Linked DNA regions of Homo sapiens: region 1 is linked to region 2. The links are contacts of gene promoters, found by promoter capture Hi-C in human tissues and cell types (Jung and others, 2019). All regions are on one chromosome and are shown on one strand. The core of a region is centred on a gene start or on the middle of the fragment in contact, and the rest is flanking DNA. Distances in the headings are between cores, read along the strand shown. Region 1 has its middle 7.9 kb from the start of SPOCD1. Region 2 holds the start of PEF1 (penta-EF-hand domain containing 1).

The links. Contacts are between HindIII fragments. The study calls those that stand out against the background at their distance.
Region 1: a contact is called between a fragment that was not itself captured here and the fragment with the promoter of PEF1 in region 2, in 1 of the 25 tissues and cell types used here (dorsolateral prefrontal cortex).

What each region holds. Positions count from the first base shown.
Region 1 is chr1:31,821,125-31,826,720 of GRCh38, reverse strand. No RefSeq gene overlaps it. Among named protein-coding and RNA genes, the nearest start is that of SPOCD1, 7.9 kb to the right of the region's middle. The HindIII fragment of the contact is 7,212 bases long and covers 1-5,596 here.
Region 2 is chr1:31,642,020-31,647,255 of GRCh38, reverse strand. It overlaps PEF1 (penta-EF-hand domain containing 1), which reads left to right and starts at 2,380. Exons shown (of 5, transcript NM_012392.4): 1 at 2,380-2,415. The coding sequence starts at 2,392. It overlaps PEF1-AS1 (PEF1 and COL16A1 antisense RNA 1), which reads right to left and starts at 3,120. Exons shown (of 6, transcript NR_184313.1): 1 at 2,960-3,120; 2 at 2,410-2,544. RefSeq lists enhancers at 1,911-2,250, 2,491-2,560, 1,880-2,650. The HindIII fragment of the contact is 9,809 bases long and covers 1-5,236 here.

The sequences.
Region 1 (5,596 bases), core at 2,108-4,607, 180 kb before region 2:
CCTGTAATCCCAGTACTTTGGGAGGCCAAGGCGGGCCGATCACCTGAGGTCAGGAGTTGGAGACCAGCCTGGCTAACATGGTGAAACCCTGTCTCTATTAAAAGTACAAAAAAAAAAAAATTAGCCTGGTATGGTGGCACATGCCTATAATCCCAGCTACTCAGGAGGCCGAGGCAGGAGAATCGCTTGAACCTGGGAGGCAGAGGCTGCAGTGAGCCGAGATCACGCCTCTGCACTCCAGCCTGGGCGACAGAGTGAGACTCTGTCTCAAAAAAAAAGAAAAGGAAAAAAAGTAAATCCCAACATATCACATTAAAAAATACATATAATTTGGGGAAACAGATGTGGGTGTGATAAAACTACATAAAAGAGAAAGCAAAAGAACACAACACAGGATTCATATTAGGGGTTGCGGTGGGTAGATAAAAGTGAGGAGAATCATATCAGTCTGTGTAAGTTCTTATCAGTATTTTAGTTTTCGTCTTGGGCAGTGGTTCCATGGATATTTTTATATTATTAAAATAGGCACCCTAATAGATAAATTCATAAATGATTCAAAGAAGGCCTTTTATGGACCGATGATGAGAATGTGTACTATATACCCAATTAGTATGACAAACCTCATTCTATGCAATTGAAGTCCAATTAAAAAGTATAATAAACAGGGCTGGGTGCAGTGGCATGCCTGTAGTCTTAACTATTCAGGAGGCTGAGATAGGAGGATCACTTGAGCCCAGGAATTGGAGGCTGCAGTGAGCTATGATTGCACTACTGTACTCCAGTCTGAGTGACAGAGCAAGACCCTGTCTCTTAAAAAAGTAAAATAAGATTATTATTTAAAAACGGAAAAATACATAAAATCACAATGAAGAAATAAAAGTTACCATCCAGAGATAATCCCTAGCTATCAACATTTAATGGATATTTTATACATTGTTCCTGTGAATAAATGTCTGTATGTGTTATCTGTATAATGGAGGTGATACTATATACAATTTTTTGAAAACGTTACAGAAATTTCAAGTCCTATATATTTATTGTAGAGTAATGAAAAAACACAAGAGGCCGGGTATGGTGGCTCACGCCTGTAATCCCGGCACTTTGGGAGGCCAAGGTGGGCAGATCATGAGGTCAGGAGATTGAGACCATCCTGGCCAACATGGTGAAACCCTGTCTCTACTAAAAATACAAAAAAATTAGCCAGGCGTGGTGGCGGATGCCTGTAGTCCCAGATACTTGGGAGGCTGAAGCAGGAGAATGGCGTGAACCCGGGAGGCGGGACTTGCAGTGAGCCGAGATCACGCCACTGCACTCCAGCCTGGGCGACAGAGCAAGACTCCGTCTCAAAAAAAAAAAAAAAGAAAAGAAAAGAAAAAAAAAAAAAGAAAATGCAAGAGGAGAAAAGAAGCAATTGAGAAAGAGCCACTGTCAACATTCTGGTGGATTTCCTTCCATTCTCTTCCTTTGCTTAACAGCACATTATGACACTTCCTCCACATCATTCAATATTCTTTGAAAACACTACCTCTCTCTACCTTAAAATTCTTTTTTTTTTTTTTTTTTTGAGATGGAGTCTCGTTCTGTTGCCCAGGCTGGAGTGCAGTGGCACAATCTCAGCTCACTGCAACCTCCACCTCCTGGGTTCAAGCGATTCTCTTGCCTCAACCTCCCGACAAGCTGGGATTACAGATGCCCGGCAACACGCCCAGCTAATTTTTGTATTTTTAGTAGAGACGGGGTTTTGCCATGTTGGCCAGGCTGGTCTCGAACTCCTGACTTCAAATGATCTGCCCGCCTCAGCCTCCCAAAGTGTTGGGATTATAGGCGTGAGCCACTGTCTCCAGCCTTTAAAATTCTTAAAGTAGTAATTTGGCAGTGGAGAAGTCTGGAAAGCACTTTCTACCAAGCGGTGGAGGTTAATATCACCTGTGGCTACCACGCACCCCCTCCTCTGATGTGAGAAGGCATTTTCCCTGTGCGGCATTCTTTCCAAAACCCCTGAGACCAGTTTAATCTGGAGAAAAGCATCAGGGAAATCCAAATTAAGAAACACTCTACAAAATACCTGACGATTACTCCTCAAAACTGTCAAGGTCATGAAAAACAAGGAATGACTGAGAAACTGTCACAGATCAGAGGAGACTAAGGGCATGGTAGCTAATGCAACGTGGTAGCCCGCACGGGAGCCTGGAACAGACAGAGGACCTGAAGGGGAAAACTGGTGGAATCCACATAAAGTTGGAGTTTAGTTAATAGTAATGTACCAATGTTGGTTTCTTAGTTTACGCAGAGACCACAGTAATAGAAGATGTTAACAATGACAGAAAATAGGTGAGGGGTAGATGGAACTTCTTATATTTTTGTAACTTTTTTGTAAGTCTAAAATTATTCCAAAATAAATAATTTATCAGGGAAAAAAAATCCACAAACCCCCAAACAGTCTTTCCTTGGCTTCCTCGAAGTCGTGCCATTGTGTTCTTCCTCCCTCTCTGACTGCCTCTGGGTGTGTTTTCATATTAAACGACAGGCACCACCTTAGGCCCTGTGAATGAGCTGGCCAACAAGGCAGACCCAGTCTGGTTCTCGCCCTTGTGGGAATACAGTCTGGCGGAGGGACTTTGGATGGAGCTGGACTTGAGGTTGGACATAGTTCCGCTTATCTCCAGCGGAGCAATCCCTAGCAAGTCATGGATTTGAAGCCCACCTTTCCTCCTCTGTAAAAAATGAATAATGAGCAGGGTGCAGTGGCTCATACCTGAATTCCCAGCACTTTGAGAGACTGAGGCAGGAGGATCACTTGAGCCCAGGAGGTCACTTGAGCCCAAGAGTTAGAGGCTGCAGTGAGCTGTAATCATGCCACTGCACTTAAGCTAGGTGACACAGCATGACCCTGTCTCTGAAAAACAAAAAAAAAACAAAAAACCCCACAAAACTATATTAGCTAAATACTACCACAAGGAAGCAGTTACCAATATTAATATCAGAAAAACTGAATTAAAGCAGAAGAACATTAATAGGAAGAAAAGGCACATTTGGCACTGATGAAAGTTATAATCTCCAAAAAAGATGTAAAAATTTATGAATTTGCATGCTCCTAAAAAAGTGTTTTTAAATATATATAAAGCAGGAACTTACAGAGGTAAAGGGAAAAAATTGACACGTTCGTAATAATTGTGTGAGATTTAAAACATTTTTTTTTTTGAGATGGAGTCTCGCTCTGTTGCCCAGGCTGGAGTGCAGTGGCACAACCTTGGTTCACTGTAACCTCTGCCTCCCGGGTTTAAGCGATTCTCCTGCCTCAGCCTCCCGAGTAGCTGGGATTACAGGTGCCTGCCACCATGCCCAGCTAATTTTTGTATTTTTAGTAGAGACAGGTTTTCGCCACATTAGCCAGGATGGTCTCGAACTCCTGACCTCAAGTGATCTGCCTGTCTTGGCCTACCAAAGTGCTGGGATTCCAGGCGTGAGCCACTGTGCCCAGCCGATTTTTTAAAATTTTATTTAAAAGTTTTTTTTAGAGACAGGGCCTCACTCTGTTACCCAGGTTGGAGTGCAGTGGTGCTATCATAGCTCACAGAAGCCTTGAACTCCTGGGCTCAAGCAATCCTCCACATCCTAGTATGCCTTCCTGTAGAGGATAGAAAGCCAAAACTCTTTCACAGATTCCCTTACAATGAGTGTTTCAGATGTGAATTATTTTCCAACACTTACTGCTATTGTGCAAGATCTGAAAAGCAGATGAGAGGCCAAGACCATTGTCCTTTTCCGTGGGCTGTTACTGCTTCCAAGCACAACTGTGGAGCTATCGAGTTTGCCCGCATCAATGTCTGGCCCCTAGTGTTGTGTATGTGGGCAGTAGAAGCAGCAGTGGCAGTGCCTGTATTAGACCTTTGTATTGTTACCCTAGCAGTGTATTTATAAATACAGTTCTAATGTGTGTTCTAGGCCCAGCCTCGGGTCCACTCCTATAGCCTGCCAGTGACTTTTTTTTTTTTTTTTTCATTTTTTAGATAGGGTCTGGCTCTGTCACCCAGGCTGGAGTTCAGTGGTGCGATCTCGGCTCTCTACAACCTCTGCCTCCTGGGCTCAAGCCATCCTCCTACCTCAGCCTTCTAAGTAGCTGGGACTACAGGGATGCGCCACCACATCCGGCTAATTTTTGTACTTTTTGTAGAGATGGGGTTTTGCCATGTTGCCTGGGCTGGTTTTGAACTCCTCTAAGCTCAAGCAGTCCACCCGCCTCGGCCTCCCAAAGTGCTGGGATTACAGGCGTGAGCCACTGTGCCTGGCCTCCCAGTGACTTTTGAAACACCCAGTGCCCTGTATTAAACCTCATTGTGCTTAAAATATCTAGAGTAGTTTTTGTTTTCTGCATTGAACACTGATTTCTGTAGATTCAAGTTACTATAGATTACTATGGATTTGAAAAACATGAGTAAAAAGCTTGAGGTAAGAAAAGCTTAAACTGTTGGCCAGGTGCCGTGGCTCACACCTGTAATCCTAGCACTTTGGGAGGCCGAGGTGAGTGGATCATGAGGTCAGGAGTTCGAGACCAGCCTGGCCAACACAGTGAAACCCCCGTCTCTACTAAAAATACAACAATTAGCCGGGCACGGTGGCGGGTGCCTGTAATGCCAGCTACTCGGGAGGCTGAGGCAGGAGAATTGCTTGAACTGGGAGGTGGAGGTTGCAGTGAGCCGAGATTGCACCACTGTACTCCAGCCTGGGTGACAGAGCAAGACTCTATCTCAAAAAAAAGAAAAAAAGAAAAGAAAAAGAAAAAAAAAGGAAAAGCTTAAACTATTAAACTGAGAATTTCAATCATTTTTCAAGCATACAATGAATATTAACAATGACAGTATATCAGATCACAAAGGAAATCTTAAAAACTTAAAAAAAAAAGCAACATTATGTAGACAATTTTAACTGATCACAATGCAGTAAAAGTATATTTTCATTTTCTTTTCAATAGAGAGACGGTCTCGCTATGTTGCCTAGGCTGGTCTCAAACTCCTGAGCTCAAGGGATCCTCCAGCCTCAGCCACCAGAGTAGCTGGGATTATACACGTTCATCATCATGCCTGGCTGAAACATTTATTTATGTATGATTTATTTATTTTCAGTTAGAGATGGGGGTCTCACTATGTTGACCAGGCTGGTCTTGAACTCCTGGCCTCAAGTGATCCTCCTATCTTGGCTTCCCAAAGTGCTGGGATTACAAGCATGAGCCACCATGTCTGGCCTGAAACTACATTTATTTTTAATAATAACAGGTAGCCACCGGGTGTGATGGCTTATGCTTGTAATCCCAGTGCTTTGGGAGGCTGAGGCAGGAGGATTGCTTGAGCCCTGGAATTCAAGACCAGCCTGGGCAACATAGAGAGACTTCATCTTCACAAAAAATAGAAATGTTAGGCACTAATACTTTGTTTCCCTAGACACCCTGTCTCTAGGCTGGGAATACACGCATGCACCACCATGTCTGGCTAATTTTTGTATTTTTTATAGAGACAAGGTCTCACTGTGTTGTCTGGCTTGTCTCAAACTCCTGGGTGCAAGTGATCCTCCCACCTTGGCCTCCCAAAGTGTTGGGAGT
Region 2 (5,236 bases), core at 1,131-3,630:
AAGAAATGAGGCTGGAGATGCTGGTATGTGTGGCCATGAATGTCATTAGGATGAGTTTAGCTTTTATTATAAGAGTGATGGGAAGTCCCCAGGGAGTTGAAGCCAAGGAATAAGATAACCACTCTGGCTGCCTGTGGAGAAAATGAAGCGTGGGGAGAAGAGTGAGAGCAGGAACATTGGTCAGTCGGCTATTGTAGTGATCCAGGCACGGATGATAGTGTCTTGGACTACAGTGATAGTGCGAACAGGGAGAAAAGAGCAGATGTGTACATGTTTGAATTAGAGCAAATGGAGATGAGGGAGGTGAGGGAGTGTGTGGAGAAAAAAAGGACACACAGGAATGATCTTAGGTTTTTGGCCTGAGAGACTGGGTGGATTTTCTGAGATGGAGAGGAATGGGTTTTGGGGAAAACACCAAAAGAAAACTCTTATACAAGGCAGGCTGGAATACCACACAGTGACAGTACCAAGTGCAAAGGGGGAGTGGCAAGAGAGAGTGGCTAACTCTGGAGCTAAGGGGAATGTGGGAGGGTTAGGTGGAGAATGGAATTGGAACTGAGCCTTGCAGGACTGGAGTTGGGAGGGCTGCTGGTCCAGGTGAAAGGAGTGGTTTGAACCTAAGTTTGGGGCATGAGCAGGTATAATAAGCTCATTTTCAAATTTACACATTTGTTCCTGTCAGCTAAGAAAAGTGAAATTTAGAGAGGTTAAATAACTTGCCTAAATAAAATGTGGTAGATATACACTGTGGAATACTATGCAGCCATAAAAAAGGAACAAGATCATGTCCTTTGCAGGGACGTGGATGGAATTGGAAGCCATTATCCTCAGCAAACTAACAGAGAAACAGAAAACCAAACACCGCATGTTACCACTTATAAGTGGGAGCTGAATGAGGAGAGCACATACACCACTGGGGTCTGTCGGAGCGTAGAGGGAGGTGGGAAGAGGGAGAGCATCAGGAAGAATAGCTAATGGATGCTGGGCTTAACACTTGGGTGATGGGATGATGTGTGCGACAAACCACCATGGCACACATTTACCTATGTAACAAACCACATCCTGCTCATATACCCCTGATCTTAAAAGTTGGAAATTAAAAACAAACAAACAAAAAACCTGCCTAAGGTGATACAGTTAGAAAGTGATAAAACAAAGATCCTCCCTCCAAAGCAGAAGTGCTGAATGGTGGAACTGAGCACAGAAATACAGAGTAGCAGAAGGGGCCGTAAGATTGGAAAGTTGAGGCTGGGCCAGATTCTGAAGGGCCTGGAGTACCAGAATGAAGAGATTGGGCCTTATTTTGTAGGCGTGGATGAAGAGCATCCATTGTAGGCTGTGTAGTGGGCAAGTGGCATGATCAGCACTGTGATTTTGGAAAGTGCACTTGGTTAGATAGATGGACTAGACTGGATAACAGTTCGTAACATTCATTTATTCATTTATTTTAATAATCGTGTCAGTCGCTATACTAGGTACTGGAGTTATAATGACAAGCAAAAACAGACAAAACCCTAGCCCACATGAAAGAACTTGACAAAGAAATCAAATAAGCACACAAATAAGTGTAGAAACGGAACCACTGAGTGGCAAGTACATGGTGCTGAGATCACTCGGTCACCAGGATTTGACCTACGATGGGGACCGACCTAGACCTCCCTGCTGAGAACTGGACATCCATTGACCCCGGTTCTAGGCGACCCACTGTGAGCTAGGGCAAGGCAACTGCCTCTCTGCACCTCAGTTTCCCCATTTATGAAGAAAGAGGCACTAGATAATTCAATTTTCCTCCAACTCTAATGATCTGGGGTTTTTTTCTCCAAAGACCACAGATCTGTATCCCACTACAAGGGTACTAACTGGTACCCAGTACCTTGACATTAGAGGAGTAATTCCGCCATCGCCTCTCCCTACCGGGAAGAGTCGGTCGGTTCCCCGTTGTCAGGGCAACCGCCTGGCCACCGCCCCTCGTCTCCTTTCCCGCGGCTCATCTGCGGAAACTCAGGAGCTACTCCAGCAATTACGTCACTATCATGCGTCCCATTTGCCAGGTTATAACATGGCTACCGCAGCAACACCCCACCCAGGCTTCTCACTAAATTTCCCAACCTGACCACCTCTTCGGCCCACTCCACCTCAGGAAAAGGAGGAACATTAGCGCTGGTACAGCCGCCAAGACTTCCGGAAGCTCCATCAATCACTTAGCTCCCCTGGTCTCTCGGGTAGGCATCCGCCCACCGCCCCCATCGTCACTTCCGTCGGCCGACAGCACCCAAGATTGACAGGCGCGGACGTCCAATCAGATGCGGGCCCAGCCCCAAAGCCGAGACGAGGGGCGGGTTTGAGAGCGGAAAGCCCCACCCCTTGCCTGAGTGTGACGTCAGAATCACCATGGCCAGCTATCCTTACCGGCAGGTGAGTGTGTGAGGGGCCCGCGAATCCAGGTAGCGGCGGTGCCAGGCGCAGGCCCGACGTCCCCCTGCTCTTTCTCCCCGCTTTCTCCGCGCCCTTCCCACGATGGGTTCGCTTCAGCGAGGCCTTGCGCTGTAGAGAACCGAAAAGGGACCGTCGGTCGCGCCCTGCTCACGTCATGAAGGACCGCACATTCGCGAGGTCGTGTCGCGCCCCCTTGACGTCGCTCACTCGAGGATTTGGGGACCTTGGACCCCACAGGTCCAGGCTGGCGCTGGCCTGGGCTCCACAGCCTCCCAAGGCCCTCATGGGGGCCTTGGGCGGGGGCATCAGCCATGACCGGAGGTTTAGAGTTCTGGTTCCGCCGATCTCATTTGGGGCGTCGGATAAAAATCCAGGCTTCCGGACCCACCCCACACTGCATCAGAGTCATCAGGAAACTCTGGTTGTAGCAGGCGCCACAAGTGAGCTGGTTTGACCACTGACTTAGTTCAACACCGCCATTTCGCGTGTAGAAAAGTGAACCCCGAGAAGACACAGAACTTACCTGAAGTCACCAGGCAGTTAGGCAGCAGGGCCGAGGTCAGAACCCGGGCTATCTTCAGATGCCTCTTCCCCAGCGTATCTTGATTCAGTCAGGAATACCGCAGCAAGGTGATTCTGTGGCCAGAATTCTTTGTTGGGTGATAGTAGGGTGTTGAAGTGCACTTTGGTGTCAGAGGTAGGTTCATATCTTAGCTCTACCACCTAAATAGTTGTGAGCCCTTGAGCAAGCTGTTTTGCCTTTCTGAGTCCAAGTTTCCGCCTGTAAAATAGGGCCGAATAATAGGATCTGCCTCATAAAGCTGTTGTGGAGAGTCAGGAGGTGATGCTTACGAAGCGTTTGGTACATAGTGAGGTGTAACATGTGTTGCCCTTTAGCATTTTGATTTTTAGTAGACTTCTAAAAGGCCAGTGCCCGGAGGGTCCTCAAAATAGAGCCCTCATTTTACAGAGGAGGAAATGAAGCCCACAGAGGGCTGCGATCACACAGTTATTTAGGAGATGAAATCCATAAACGAAATGTGGGAAAACAAGATCAATTGGTATATTACACAGTGCTCAACTGAGTTTAGTCACAGGCCAAAAGATGTAACAGTCCTTCCAGGGAGTGCAGTCTTGTGCGGGTTACACAGTGTTTGGACCTCCATTATCCTAATCATGAAGTCCCTATCGGCATGCAGGTATTATTACCCCTAATTAACTGCTGAGGAGCAAACCCAAAGAGGTTAAGTGGCTTCCCAAAAGTCACACGTAGTAAGTGAGGGTGAGGCCATGACCAGAGCTTAGGACTTCTCTTATTGCATCCTTAGAGAGAGGTAGGAAAGAGAGAGGCCAGTGCGGGCTGGAGTTAGGAAGTGTAGCATAGCAGTTGCTTCCTAAAGTCCATTCCATTTGCTGAGTCTTGGGAGGTTTTAATAGATATTGTTAATATAGGAGGATTCTGTAGTTAACTAAAGTTTTGGAAATACTCTTAAGTATAGCTGAATAAGTTTATTGACCACAAGCTATTTCAGAATCCTTAATTTGCTAATGTACATTGTAAATCATCCAGAAAGGAATATAATATGCAGTATTTCTTAAACATATCTAACCATAGAAACTCCGCCTCCCGGCTTTCTTTTCAGATGTCTGGTCACTTTTTTGACTCTAGTATTTCTGAGGAACACAGGCTGAAAAAACATTCATAGCGCCTTGTTTCCCAGTGGCTGGTCTTCTGCCTCAGAATCAGCTGAGAGCTTGTTTAAGAAAGCACACTTTTGGGTCCCACTTCAGACCTGTTCTGTACCCAGGAATCTACATGCTAATAAGCATTAGGGACAATTGGTGTGCATCCTAAAAGCAGTGACAGGTTAGAGAGAACTGTGCTAGAATTCTAGCTGTATTACTTAATAGTTATATACCCCTGGACAAACTAAGGGCTCTGAGCCTCAGCTTCCTCACCTGTATAAAGGGAGAAATAATACCTGTGAAAAGGGCTAAAATGAGGTTAAAATGCAGGGAGCCTGGCGTGTTGCTAGTGCCTAGTACATGCCAGTGTCTGGTGGCAGCTCTTGCTGCCGTGACTGCTCTCATGATGCCATGCTGCCTGGGCTATTCCTGGAGTGAAATACTGAAAAGGAGCACAGAGAGAAGAGTCTGGAATAGAAAAAGAAATGTTGTTTTTTTTTCCTACCATACCCTTGTCCGCCTCCTGGTCTCAGGTGTTCTAAGAAAGGAAACGAGTTGTTTTAAAGCATCTCAGTCAGTGCTGCCTCCCCTCCACCCACTACATAGCTTTGGAGGATTCCAGCCTATTGTTAGGAGTCAGAATTCCTGTAATTTTCCACTGCTTCCAGTCCAGGGTACCCAAGCAGGGACTGGGTATTGGAGTAGTAAAATTCAAGCACCCTTTGGTCCTATGGGGGAACGAGCTTGGTGGATTTCAGTGCTTAAGAGCTTAGTTTTTGAGGCCAGAGAGAGTTGATTTCAAATCCCTGCTTTGTCACTCCCTTGCAGAAGTTTGTTGCAAAAGTCTGAGACTCAGTTTTCCCTTTTTTGAAAAAAATTTTTTATTTATTTGTTTATTTTTAAGACAGAGTCTTGCTCTGTCGCCCAGGCTGGAGTGCAATGGCACAATCTTGGCTCACTGCAACCTCCGTCTCCCGGGTTCAAGCAGTTCTCCTGCCTCAGCCTCCCAAGTAGCTGGAATTACAGGCGCACGCCACCACACCTGGCTAATTTTTTGTATTTTTAGTAGAGACGGGGTTTCGCCATGTTGGCCAGGCTGGTCTCAAACTCCTAA